3 separate regions of the Homo sapiens genome follow, and all the other regions are linked to region 2. Evidence: promoter capture Hi-C in human tissues and cell types (Jung and others, 2019). All regions are on one chromosome and are shown on one strand. The core of a region is centred on a gene start or on the middle of the fragment in contact, and the rest is flanking DNA. Distances in the headings are between cores, read along the strand shown. Region 1 holds the start of ZNF530 (zinc finger protein 530). Region 2 overlaps ZNF547 (zinc finger protein 547). Region 3 holds the start of ZNF773 (zinc finger protein 773).

Region 1 (4,457 bases), core at 1,332-3,831, 230 kb before region 2:
ATGGGATCTATGATGTTATGGGCTTAATGTTTCTGCCCCACGCCCACCCACAAAATGCTTACATTGAAGCACTAACACAATGAAGCCTAATATAATGTGATAGTATTTGGAGATGGAATCTTTGGGTGGTAATTAGATTTAGATAAGGTCAAAAGAGTGGGGCCCTCATGATGGAATTAATGCTTTTGTAAGAATAGAAAGAAAGAGATTCCTTGCTTTCTTTACATACTCCCTCCCAGGAAAGGCCATGTGAGGAAAAAGCAAGAGGGCAGCCACTGCAAGTCAAGAAGCAGCCCATCACAAATAAGTGAATCTAGAGGCACCCTGATGTAGAATTTCCTAGCCTGCAGAACTGTGAGAAACAAATTTTTGTTGTTTAAGCCACCAATATAGGTTATTTCATTATCAACCCAAGGTAAGACACTGATATAGCCTGGATATTTGTCCCCTTCAAATCTCACCTGGAAATGTGATCCCCAATGTTGGAAGTGGGGCCTAGTGGGAGGTTATCTGGGTCATGGAGGTGGATCCCTCATGAATGGCATAGTATCCTTCCAACAGTAATAAGTTCACATGAGACCTGGTTGCTAAAAAGAGACTGGTGCCTCCCTCCTGCCTTGCTGGCTCCCTTTTTGCCTTCTGCAATGATTGGAAGCTTCCTGAGGCCCTCACCAGAAGTGGAGACTAGCGCTAAGCTTCCTGTACAGCCTGCAGAACTATAAGCTGTAATAAACCTTGTTTCTTTATAAACTACCCAGCCTTAGGTATTTCTTTATAGTAATGCAAATGGCCTAACAGACATAGGGCTCCATCCTAGTTCAATAATATCCTCCACTCTTTGTAGAAGTCTCTATCCTGCACCCTTCCTCAGAGTCCAAGACCTGTGTGTCCACCTAGCCACTTGATATAGCTACTTACTTATTCTCTAAAACATCTCATATTTTTAACATGGACAAAACACATTCCTGATGTCCTGAGTGAAAAACAATTCTACTATCTACTTGGCTCTCCCAGTAGATGGAGCTTCTATGCTTCCAGCTACTAAACTCAAAAAGCCTTGAGTCACCCCTTCTTATCTCTCAGTCCCAATACCAGAAAATCAGAGCCGACCTACAATCCAAAATTCAACCATTTCTGCCACACTGTGGCCACTACTCTGGCCCACATCATCTACACTCACCTGGACTATTGCAGTAGTCTCCTCTTTCCTCTTTGGTATTGCTACCAACTCCCTTAAACCCACAGTCTGTTGTCTGTGCTCAGCCACAGGAGCCTCATGAGGCCTGGGGAAGATCACCTCCCTCTTCTGCTCCAAATCTTCATTGCTGCCATCATCTCCAGAACAAAGACATCTGAGACAGCCATTTAGTTTCTAACTCCTGTACCTCTGCTCTCTGTTCCCATGAGAAGGAAATGAGACTTGAGGTTCTCTTAACCAGCTCAGCCTCACCTCCAAGCAGCTCCAAACACCTGTACTTATCTCTGGGACAAACTTCCACATTCATCCTATTATTTGCCAGCAACAGGCACCACCTCATATAATACTCACCCTGGACATATTTTTGTTCAGAGTCCCTAGGCTCAAGGCCTGGAAAAGCGGTAAGTAAAGAATCCCAGGTCACCACAGTCCCAATCCTAGAGATCCCATTGCTGGAATCAATGAGCTTCTGGATTTCCTCCACTTACCCTTGTAGGGTCTTCAAGTGCTTCTTACGGACCTGTAAGTACTAGTGGCAATCTGTGGGAGGAAACATGTTCTGAGAGGCAGGTGACCAAAGTGTGGCTCCATGGACTTCTGGTTCCAATGTGGAACACCAGAGCCAGGTGTCCAGGGATGACTGCTTTGTATCTGGGTGTCAGTCCTTGGTGCTGACTTTTACCAGCTTTGTGACCTCGTAAAAAGACTAGGTCCCTCCATGCCTGCTATCATCACTGCCCTTCCAGCGCGTTCCTCTGAACAGCTTTTGTGAAACTTTTAGAAGCGTGACTGGGGCCGTGCCCCTCTTCTGTCCTACGCGCTGTGGCCCTCAGTGTGCTGGTGAAACTCAGTGGGGCCAATGCAGCGCGGCGCTGCCCCACCCTCTGCTACCTGCACGCGTGAGGCCGGCCTGGGTCTCCCCAGCCTCCCGGCTCAGGCGCAGCTCCAAGCTGTTGCCCGCGCAGCCCCCTGACCGTGTCGCTCTCCCGCTCCCTGCCACACTACCAGAAACGAGATCCAGCACCAGCGCCTCACTGTGCCGGACAGTGCGGTCCGGGCTGCAGAAAACCCTTCACGCGTCCCTCAGTTTCGGGTGGGGAGGGCAGAGGAGGCCGGGAGGACGCAGCGCTCACCTGGGTCGGGGCCCTCAGTGCCGCCGCCATCGGACTCTGGGCGGAGCGGGCCGGGAGCGGTGGACGATCCGGGCGGAGACAAGAGCAAAGCTGTCACCACCGCCGGCGACCGTCAGGCCCCGGCTGTGCAGCTGAGAAAACGACTCTCCTCGCGCCTTCTCGCTGTCAGCACCTAGGTCCAGATCCGGCACCCGCGGATGGAACTGACACAAGCCAAAGTGCCCGCCACAGGGAGGACGCCGGAAGTTCCGCTCCGACAAGTTGGACAGAGCGGAAATGTCCCTCCCCTGAGCCTCATTGGCTCCACGCCAAGAACCTGGCTCACGGGCCTCTGGGTAATGTAGTTCTCACCGCTTCTTGGGCTGGCAGAGGTCGCCCTTCTCCTGGACCTCAGGGAGGAATGACCCCGTTGCTATGGAGAAAGGTGGAGGGGAAGGCTGAGAGGTGGTGTCTCCAGCCTCCTTGGACAAGGGAGGAGCTTCGCTGCTTTTTTAAGGTACCATACAGAGATTTTTGGAGGGTATTGTGTACAACTAGTCACCTAGGTAGTCAGAGTTATTCAGATACAAAATGCCTCTACCCTTGGCGAGAGCCTAGTAAACATTACCTTCTTTCTCCACACATTTATGTAAAGTAGAACGTTAGAGTCAGCTTTGTGAGTTTCATTATGCTCAGTAAGGAATAAGGGAAATAGAGTTTACATAGCGCCATGACAGGAATGATAAAACATCCGTTAGATCGCACCGAAGCTGGAGGACGAAAGAGGAATTTTGTCTCACAGAAAATGCCTCTCCTGCCTGTGTAATCGGTGAGTGTGTCTAGCCCTGTAAGGAACAGTGTTGTATTCATATAATATTTCTTCCTCCATATTCTTAGATATGCTTCTTTTAGGATTGTAGCAACTTTCTAAACAGAAGAGCCACTTAGCATATGCCATTTTAAAGTAGAACAGTGTCTGTAGTGTTCACAGTCAGAGCACTTGTGCAAAGGGGACATCAGAATACCAGAATAAAGGTTTGGGACACCTAGCTTTCATCTCTTTGATGGGAAATTTTGATCATTGATACTGTTACTGCAGGGACAGTGCTTGCATGGGGAGTTGAGATCATCTTAGAAAAACAGTTGTGAAATGAAAATTACTGAAACCTATTGTATTAGTCAGGATTCTCCAGAGAAACACAGAACCAATAGGATACATAGATGTACAAGAGGGGATTTATTATGGGACTTGGCTCATCCAGTTATGGAGGCTAAGAAGTCCCAGGATATACCTTTTGCAACCTGGTAAGACACGAAGGTGGGTGGTATCATTCAGTCTGCATCTGAAGGCCTGAAAACCAAGGGAGCCTATGGTGAAATTCCCAGTTGGAGGCTGAAGGCCTGAGAACTGGGTGAGGGTCATTCTTGTATGTTCCAGAGTCCAAAGGCCCAAGATCCAAGAACTTTAATGTTGGAAAACAGAAGGTGGATGATCCAGGGCAAGAAGAGAGTAACTTGCTCTTTCTCTGCCTTTTTGTTCTATCTTGGCTCTCAAAGCATTGGATGTTGGCCCCTAACACTGATGAGGCCAGATCTCCTTTACATTGTCTACAGACTCAACTGCTAATATCTTCCATAAACATTCTCACAGACATATCCTGTACTAAGGTTTTCCCAACTATTTGGGTAGCCCTTAATGCAGGCAAGTCGACACAAAACATTATACGTCACAACTATTAATAATCTTGTGGCTAGGCCAAGCGCGGTGGCTCATGCCTGTAATCCCAGCACTTTAGGAGGCCAAGGCAGGTGGCTCATGAGGTCAAGAGATCAAGACCAGCCTGGCCAACATGGTGAAGCCCTGTCTCTACTAAAAATACAAAAATTAGCTGGGTGTGGTGGCGTGCGCCTGTAGTCCCAGCTACTTGGGAGGCTGAGGCAGGAGAAGCGCTTGAACCCAGGAGGTGGAGGTTGCAGTGAGCCGAGATCACACCACTGCACTCCTGCCTGGTGACAGAGTGAGACTCCATCTCAGTAGAGAGAAAAAAAAAAAGAATATTGAACATAATTAATTGAACTGAACATAGACTTACTTTGCTTTTTTTAGTGCAGTCATATATAAGTCTATAAGTACATTTGGCTTGGCT
Region 2 (4,475 bases), core at 1,976-4,475:
GGTAAGAACACAAGAGAGGGGTACAGTGCAGAGAGGAGGAGGGTCTCCAAGTCACTTCTCTGCAAATGGCTTTCCACAGGCCATGGCTGCTGGTGACTAGTGAGCAGTGTGTAGAAGGCTGTGTCTAAACCCAGAGAGATCTGATTGTGACAGAGGAGATGGTGTTCAGGGACTACTGACAAATACATGCAGACCTCACCTTAAGTACAGGTCATGCAGTGGATGGCACTGCAGAGGGAGCAGTTGAAGAAAATAGGTAACGGCTGGAAGCCAGGGATTAGAAGTCAGAGTAAAAATGACAACGGGGGAAGGAAAAGAAGAGTGAGTTGTGGCAACCAGTCTTCAACTAAACAACAGGGGTCACCAGACAGATTCCTAGTAATATGACCCCAGCTGTGATATTACACCTTTTCCCAACTCCCAGGAACCAGGATCATGTCCCTCTGAGTCTCTACAGCCCTTCAGGGAGTAATATCCACCCTCTTGGGTACCAGGGCCCTCCCCATTGCTTAAGGTGACAGTCTGTGAGACCTGAAAGAGACCAGTCCTAGGGGAAAGACACAGAAAGAGACAAGACAGCACATTCCCAGAGAGATCACCTGATGATATCTCACATTCGATAATCACCAGAACTTCACAGAAGATTTCTACATCCTACACAATCAAGCCAGTGGTTCACCAAATTAGTGATCAGGTCAGTGCCAGAAATTCCAGGAACAAGAAGGGACCAAGAAATATTGGCAAGAGCAAGGGAACAACAGAGCACAGAGGTCTCATGCATTTGAATAGAACACAGGGCCAGTGGGTCTCTATGTCACCTTCAACATTTCTGGATCCTGAGCCCTTTCTTGCAAGCCTCAGAACAGCAGAGGATGGGGCTGCCAGGAAAAAGGAAGCACACAGCACATATTGCAGTCCTGACTCTCATGGAACATATGTCAGGAAACAAGGAAAAGAAGCAGCACCCATGGTCTCACTGTGGGAAACGCAGAGCTGCCTTCAGGTAAAAGGAGACAACACAGCCCAACCCAGGACACTGGGCAAGTGTGAGGGCCTTACCTAGTGAGGACAAAAGGGCCAAATTCTCCAGCATCACATCACGGTACAGCAATCTCTGAGCCTCATCGAGATGCCCCCACTCCTCCTGGGAGAAATATATGGCCACGTCTTCAAAAACCACATGACCCTGCCAAATTGGGAAAGATGAATACATGAGCAGCTTTTCAAACTGTATTTACTTAAGTTCTCTATTTATTTTCTACTTATATTTACCACCCATTAAACACAGGGACAAACTAACAGCTAAATGTGTTTCCATCTCCCCTACCATCCTGGGCACATATTCTTAACCATCTCCATCTCTAACTTTCTCAAACCAAGTCAGTATTTCCCATGCTCTAAATCAACCCAGGGACAGGTACTGCACAACTAGGGACAGTCCCAATAGCCCAGGTGTCCTGGAATTACTAAAACTAGCCAAACTATCCTGACAGCCAGCCCTGCCTTGTTTCCCTTGGAAACCCCAACAGCATCTGTGGACTAAACTAAACTCACTCCAATTTTCCTCCTGATCAAATCTGGTGTTTCACCGTGTGGCCCTGTGTTATGTGGTATGTAACCTCCTTAGGGAAACGTAAGGAATAAATATCTTCTTTCAGTGTCATTGGCCTGTCCCTGGCATCACTCACTCACATCCATAAATTAAAACTCCATGGGGGCCAGGCACAGTGGCTCATGCCTATAATCCCAGCACTTTGGGAGGCTGAGGCGGGCAGATCACCTGAGGTCAGGAGTTCAAGACCAGCCTGGCCAACACAGTGAAATCCCATCTCTACTAAAAATACAAAAATTAGGTGGGCATGGCGGCACATGCCTGTAGTCCTAGCTACTTGGGAGATTGAGGCAGAACTGCTTGAATCCAGGAGGTGCAGGTTGCAGTGAGCCAAGATCATGCCACTGCACTCCAGCCTGGGTGACAACACAGCAAGACTCCATCTAAAAAAAAAAAAACAAAAAACCCCAATGGGTACAATCACTGCTACTTTTCTCTCTCCAGGAACTCATCCCTCTCCCCTACACCTCCTTTCCTTCCTCAATCTCTACACCCTCCCAATGTGGAAGAGAAACCACATCCAGGTGGCATGAGTGACTTTTCTCTCCATATTGACATTGGCCACCGTGTCCAGCACACAGAGGAAACAGATGGAAGATAAGGTAGAAAAGGAATGTGGGCCTCCCGTGGGGGGATCCATCCTCTCCTGCCAGCCAGTTTCCATGGAGTCACCCAGATCTTGCCTCCCAAGACAACCAAACTCAGACTCATCCTCCTCCCTTGAGCTACCAGGGCCAGGGCCTGAGGCCCTCCATTCACACTCCTCCTGCCTGCACATCACTCTTTGGACAGCACTCCAATCCCATCTCTCACACCTCCACTCCAGTCAATTCCACAGACACCTCCCAGCCCACACCACAGGCATTTCCTTCACCTCCTAACAGGCCACTCTGCACACAGAAACCAGGTGGTGCACGGCAAATACGCTCAGCATCCAATTCACTCCCAGTCCTGCCCCAGAACACCAAAGTTCCCTAGCACCGGGGGCAGCCCTAAGCCCTGGGTTGAAGGTTCCCTACATGGCCCTGTTTCTCACTTCACTGTCAGGTGCCCAAACCATGTGAGGACTTCACATACTCTCAGCTGTGTCCTGCCTCATGGACACAGGATTGTAAGTTTCCTGAGGCCTCCGAGTTATGCTTCCTGTTAAGCCTGAAGAACTATGGGCTGGGTGCGGTGGCTCACGCCTGTAATCCCAACACTTTGGGAGGCTGAGGAGGATGGATCACGAGGTCAGGAGATCAAGACCATCCTGGCCAACATGGTGAAAGCCCATCTCTACTAAAAATACAAAAATTAGCTGGGCGTAGTGGGGTGAGTCTGTCGTCCCAGCTATTCAGGAGGCTGAGGCAGAAGAATCGCTTGAACCTGGCAGGGAGAGATTGCAGTGAGCCGAGATTGTGCCACTGCACTCCAGCCTGGGCCACATCTCAAAAAAAAAAAAAAAAAAAAAAAAGAACTGTGAGTCAATTAAACTTCTTTTCTTCATAAAGTACCCAGTCTCAGGTAGTTCTTTGTAGCAATATGAAAACAGACTAATAGAATTCCCATCCTCATCTCATTCCAACTGATGCTTAGCAACTCTCCGACCTCACCCTATTACCCTCCTCAGCAACCCCATCATGTCCACTCTCCTTCAGAAGTCTTTCTCACTCCTATACCCCACCATCTCACATACACTCATCCCCACAAACACTCCATTCCCTCATTTGTCTAGTGACTCCTCCACCACTGCACAGCTACCCAGTAAGAGACCCAGTTCTCATGCCCCATTCCAATTCTCTGTCTTCGAACAGCACTGCCACCATAACCTAGAGATGCTGTCACCTAAACTGAATCCATGGCTTCATCCTGGTCCATACGACAGCCACCATAGTGTGGACGTCTCCAACCTGAACTCCTCCACCAGGAGTCTCTGAGACATCTGTGGCTTGAACAAACACTGACTCCTCACACTCACTCTGAAAATTCCTAATACTGCTGACTTCTCCCATCTTAGCTGATGGAGCATCTATGCTTCCAAACAAAAACCATGGGGCCACTCCTGATTCCCCTTCTATCCCACCCCCCCAGCTGCCTCACTCTCTACATCATAAAATGTGGGCAGCTCCAGTTCAAAACACATCCTGAAGCCACCGCTACTCTTGACAAGTCACCACCAACATCCACCTAGACTGCTGCAGGAACATCCTCTCAGATCTCCCTGCCATTACCCTCACCTCCACAGTCTGTCCTCCACTCAGACGCCAAAGAAAGTTCCTTAAGCTAGGGTCCTATCACTGCCCTCTTCTGCTTCAAATCTTCCCCATCTACCACCTCCCTTAGATTAGAGACCCAGGACCTAGGCTGTCATTCCAGGCCTGATGTTTGTGTGTCTCTAGCCACCTCCCACTCTGCTCCCTATTCCTATCCGATATAACAGACACTTGCAGTTCCCTAAAAATCCAGTTCAGTCTCTCCTCTAAACACTGAAACATTCTTAATCTTGTGCCCATGACACTCTGACAGATGTTACCACGTCAACTGTCAAAAATGGGAGCCACTCCACATAATCCAGGGCCATCCAGGTAAGGTGTCACAGTAAACTTAAAACAATCAAACAAAAATCCCAGACCTAATTTAAGATACTAGAACTGGTGGAATCACTCACTTTTCAGACATAAGAGAGGGAGAAAGACAGAAAGAGAGTCTCTGGACACCACTTTTCTTTACATGGAGGTGCCAAAACCATCTATGAGATAACTGGTAGGTGAAAGGTAGAAAACACTCCACTCACCTGTGCAGGGTTCATTTCTGCCATCGCCAGGGGACCCTGAAGGAAGAGGGAAACCGTGAGAAATGGGCAACGATGGGAAGATCTTAC
Region 3 (4,683 bases), core at 301-2,800, 130 kb before region 2:
CTTATGTGTCTAGGACTAAATATCAACTCTTACTGTACACATAATTAATGCTTCTGTCAACATTTTCAGTGCAAATAAACTGGTAGGTTTTCAAAATGTGGGTTTCTGCCTGGGTGCAGTGGCTCAAGCCTGTAATCCCAACACTTTGGGAGGCCGAGGTGGGCAGATCACAAGAGCAGAATTCTGTCTCAAAAAAAAAAAAAAAAGAAAGAAAAAGAAAGACAATGTGGGTTTCCTTTTGGCAATCTGGCTGCCTGCTATATACTCCCCTGAAGACCATCCTGCTGAGAGCCCTCCCTTCTACTGGAGCAGTTGATCATCCCACCTGTGCTGATAGCTAGGGAAACTTAGGCACCAAAGGTGCTGCTCCACCAGCCTGGCTGACCTTTCCTTTTCTCCATATGGACTGGACATGAGGAACTACTAAGCCTGGAGTGGCAAACCTATATACTACCCAACACTGCGGTCTCCATCCAGTCCTGGGTGTTCATACTCTATAACCCTCCATTCCTGCAGGCACCAGACAAAATCACTTCGGACCACGAAACTCCAGGCTGTAGAGGCTGCCCCATCCTACAGGCCCATCTCTCCCTTCCCTCACCTCAGGGACCATCTGAAAGAAAACTTTAAGATTCTCCCTCCTAAATACGAGCCCCAGGCCTTCCAGCTGCTCATGTGGACATGACACCTCCACTCTGGGACATCTCAGGATCACCATGCCCAAAACCTATTCCCTGCACAGCCTTACCCATCTCCATCCTTCCTGATATTCAGGAACAAACAAAAATACAAATAAAAATCCAGAATGGCTCTTCATTCCCTACTTTCTTTCACAGTCACATCTGATGCAACAGGAATTCCCGTCTGTTCAGTTTTTGAAATCCATCCAAGATCTGATCACTTCCCCTCCTCTGTGGCCCAGTCCCAGTAGACTCTCCACTAGTCTACTGAATTTACCTACTCACAGGTCTGTCTTCACCCGCCTCACCCCCACCCCAGTCTGTTTTGACTTGAAGGGCCTTTGGCAAACTTTGAGAAACAGATCTTGTCACTCTTCTGTCTCCAGCCCTCCGCGGCCACTGTGGCCCCCTCAGGATGAAAGCGCAGCTGCTCGGGCTGTCGCTCGACACGCGCCTCGTCCCTTCCCAAGCTGCCCACTACAGACACCAGGAGGCCTCAGGTTCGGGACTCGCTGAATGCGCCTCACATCTTTGCGAGCCGGGCCCCTTGCCCTCCATTGCCACCCCATCACACTGCGTGTCAGAAACGGGACGCCGCCCACGAACGCCCCACAGTTCTGCACCCGGGGACCTGAGCAGGCGGCCCTCACAGGGCTTTAGGATTCGGGGGAGGCCGGGAGGACGCGGCGCTCACCTGAGCGGGGTCCCTCAGCGTGGCCGCCGCCATCGGAGCCTGTGGCGGTGAGACAACGACCGAGGAAAGGGCCCGGGCCACCCTGGGCGCCGCCACCGAGCCTCAGACCCGCCTCTGAGCTGCGAGAACACAGCGCGTCCCCACCGCGCTTTCCGGAGCTGGTCGCCGCAGCGAACAACCAGCTTCCGGCAAGCTGAGTTCTCTTGAGGGCAGCGAAAGCAACCGCCGAGGGGAGACGCCGGAAGTCCCGCCCATTGCGCGTCGCACTCTCGGGTAGACCTCTTTTCATTGGCCAAGCATCGCGGCTCACGGCGCGGCGCCTTCTGGGCAGTGTAGTTCGCGTGGCTCCAAACTTCGAGGAAGTGGGCATAACTTCGGAGATGGAGATTGGAGACGGTAGATGATGGAGATGGAGATGGAGATGGAGATGATGGAGATGATGGAGATGGAGATGATGGAGATAGAGATGATGATGGAGATGGAGATGATGGAAATGGAGATGATGAAGATGGAGATGATGGAGAAGATGGAGATGATGGAGAAGATGGAGATGATGGAGAAGATGGAGATGGAGATGATGGAGTAGGAGATGGAGATGGAGATGATGGAGATGATGGAGATGGAGATGATGGAGATAGAGATGATGATGGAGATAGAGATGATGATGGAGATGGAGATGATGGAGATGGAGATGATGGAGATAGAGATGATGATGGACATGGAGATGATGGAGATGGAGATGATGATGAAGATGGAGATGATGGAGAAGATGGAGATGGAGATGATGGAGTAGGAGATGGAGGAGAAATGAGTGTCGAGAACTCTCGGACTCATCTGGAACCTGTTGTAATTGGAGATGGGCCTGGATTTCAGTTTCCTGCAGCTGATACTCCAATCTTTCCTTCTTTTGAAGGACTTGAAGAGGATCTTCAGGGCCACCATAAAGAGGTTTCACTGGGCAAAGCCACGTATACCTTCCTAAATTTCCTTTGGCAAGGGGACACCCAATATTAATGCCTGATGTATGATAATAAGAAAAGGCTCTGAATTCTGGATGTAGGTGATGAGAGAGTAGGGGAGCCCAAGGATTTACGTTCCTCTTTCACCCCATTCTCATTTGTGTTCTTTCCTTCCTCAAGGACCCAACATTGGTGTAAAGGCACAACAACAGGCAGCAAACCCATAAGCCAACTCCCCCTCAATTTCTCCCCTTCATCCATTTCTGCTCCATATTCCTGTCACAGTTACTATGGGACTGAACGAAGGGGAACGAATGCAGAAATGAAAACAAAGGCAAAATAAATCTGTTTTAAAGAAGGGGTCAGGGGGCTTCTTGCTTCTAGTGAGGAAGGGCCCTGAGCTTCCACAGACCTTCATATTTATTGGGTAGAAAGAGTAGGGAGGTGGTGGCTTACGCCTGTAATCCCAGCACTTTGGGAGGCCAAGGCGGGTGGATCACAAGGTCAGGAGATCGAGACTATCCTGGCTAACACGGTGAAACCCCGTCTGTACTAAAAAATACAAAAAATTAGCCGGGTGTGGTAGCAGGTGCCTGTAGTCCCAGCTACTCGGGAGGCTGAGACGGGAGAATGGCATGAACCCGGGAGGTGGAGCTTGCAGTGAGTGGAGTTCATGCCACTGCACTCCAGCCTGGGCGACAGGGAGAGAATCCGTCTCAAAAACAAAAAAAAAGAAAAGAAAATATCGCTCTGGTTTTGTAATGATAAAATAGAACCTACATATATTTTGTGTTATGCATTCTTGGCATACCTATTTCAATGAATTCTGGTTTTTTGAAATTGTCTCAAATATTCAAAAATTTTTTCCAGTATATTTATTGAAAAACATTCACATATAATTGGACCTGTGCATTTCAAACCTGTGTTATTTAAGGGTCAGCTGTACTGTCATGAAACCACCAACACAGTCATGATAGAGAAAATTACCATTGCCTGATAACGTTTTCCTGTACTCTTTCAGTCAGAACCTTCCCCCTCAGACCGCAGGCTCAATAACCAGTGATCTGCATTCTTTTACTCTAGTTTTGCAGCTTCTTCATTTCATATAAATGGAATCATACTGTATGTCAACTTTTGTGTCTGGCTTCTTCCACTTGGCTCAGGGATTTTCAGATTTATCTATGATATTTTTACTTGTATTCATAGTTTATTCTTTTATGTTGTTGAATGGTATTTTATGTTAAGATATACCATAATTGATTATTCATTCTTCTGTTCACGGAAATTTTAGTTTGTGTGTGTGTGTTTTAAAAACAAATTCTGGTGTTTGGGTTTTATAAATAAAACTGCTGAGCATGCAAGTGTAAGTATTTCTAGAACATATGCTTTTGTTCTCTTGGGGATATCCCAATAGGTAAGATTCCTAAACTATATGGTAAGCTTATGCTACCTTTAAAGCTGCTACACTGTTTTCTGAAGTTGTTTTACTACTTTTGCAACTTTCTTGAAAAGAGATTGACAATAGAGTGTTGTGTGAGTGTATTTCTGGGTTCTCTGTTCTCTTCTGTTCATCTCTGTCCTTTAGCTAATACTGTACTCTCAATTACTGTACGTTTGTATGTCCTAAAGTCATAAAGATTTTCAAACTTATTCTTATTTATAAAATTGTTTTGGCAATTAGTCCAGGCCCTTTGTATTTCCATGTAACTTTTTAGAATACATTTGTAAATTTTTATTTAAAAGATTAGGTTTTTATTAGGATAGTTAAAGGAAAACTGACAACTTCAAAGTATTAAGTCTCAGATTCAGGAACTTCTTGTGTCATTTATTTATGCCTTGTTTAATGTCTCTCAGGAATGTTTTAAAGTTCTTGAACATATTTTGTTAAATTTATTTCTAAATATTTCATATTTTTATGCTATTGTGAAGTACATTTTTTCAGTTGCCAAGCATGTATTTGCTAGCTATATACCAACCTAGTAGAGACACCTACTTTTTATACACTGGCCTTTTTATCTTAGGACCTTGCTAAACTCAATTATTAGATCTAGTAGCTTTTTAGTAGATAATTTCGAATTTTCAACATTATCATGTCATATGTAAATACAGACAGTTTGGGTTCTGCCTTTACAATCATTAGATTTTTTTTTTAATGAGAAGTGATGAATGTTGACGTATTTATGTTATTCCTAATGTTGGGGAAAATCAGCTTATCAAATATTTGATCACATATATATCAAATGTGCTGTTAGCTGTTTTTCATAGATGTGCTGTATCAGGTTGAAGAAATCACCATCTTGTTTAATTTGTTGCATGTATCATAACCTAGTTTTGAATTTTGTAAAATGCT

What was found. Contacts are between HindIII fragments. The study calls those that stand out against the background at their distance.
Region 1: the fragment with the promoter of ZNF530 here is called in contact with a fragment that was not itself captured in region 2 in 7 of the 25 tissues and cell types used here (bladder, dorsolateral prefrontal cortex, heart left ventricle and 4 more).
Region 3: the fragment with the promoter of ZNF773 here is called in contact with a fragment that was not itself captured in region 2 in 2 of the 25 tissues and cell types used here (dorsolateral prefrontal cortex and liver).

Annotation. Positions count from the first base shown.
Region 1 is chr19:57,598,009-57,602,465 of GRCh38, reverse strand. It overlaps ZNF530 (zinc finger protein 530), which reads right to left and starts at 2,581. Exons shown (of 4, transcript NM_001321981.2): 1 at 2,332-2,581; 2 at 1,687-1,738. RefSeq lists enhancers at 2,114-2,233, 2,324-2,533. The HindIII fragment of the contact is 9,316 bases long and covers 1-4,457 here.
Region 2 is chr19:57,368,493-57,372,967 of GRCh38, reverse strand. ZNF547 (zinc finger protein 547) reads right to left here. Exons shown (of 4, transcript NM_173631.4): 2 at 4,389-4,424; 3 at 1,060-1,186. The coding sequence starts at 4,412. Among named protein-coding and RNA genes, the nearest start is that of ZNF547, 7.2 kb to the right of the region's middle. The HindIII fragment of the contact is 8,803 bases long and covers 1-4,475 here.
Region 3 is chr19:57,496,805-57,501,487 of GRCh38, reverse strand. ZNF773 (zinc finger protein 773) reads right to left here and starts at 1,550. Exons shown (of 4, transcript NM_198542.3): 1 at 1,375-1,550. The coding sequence starts at 1,407. The HindIII fragment of the contact is 9,164 bases long and covers 1-4,683 here.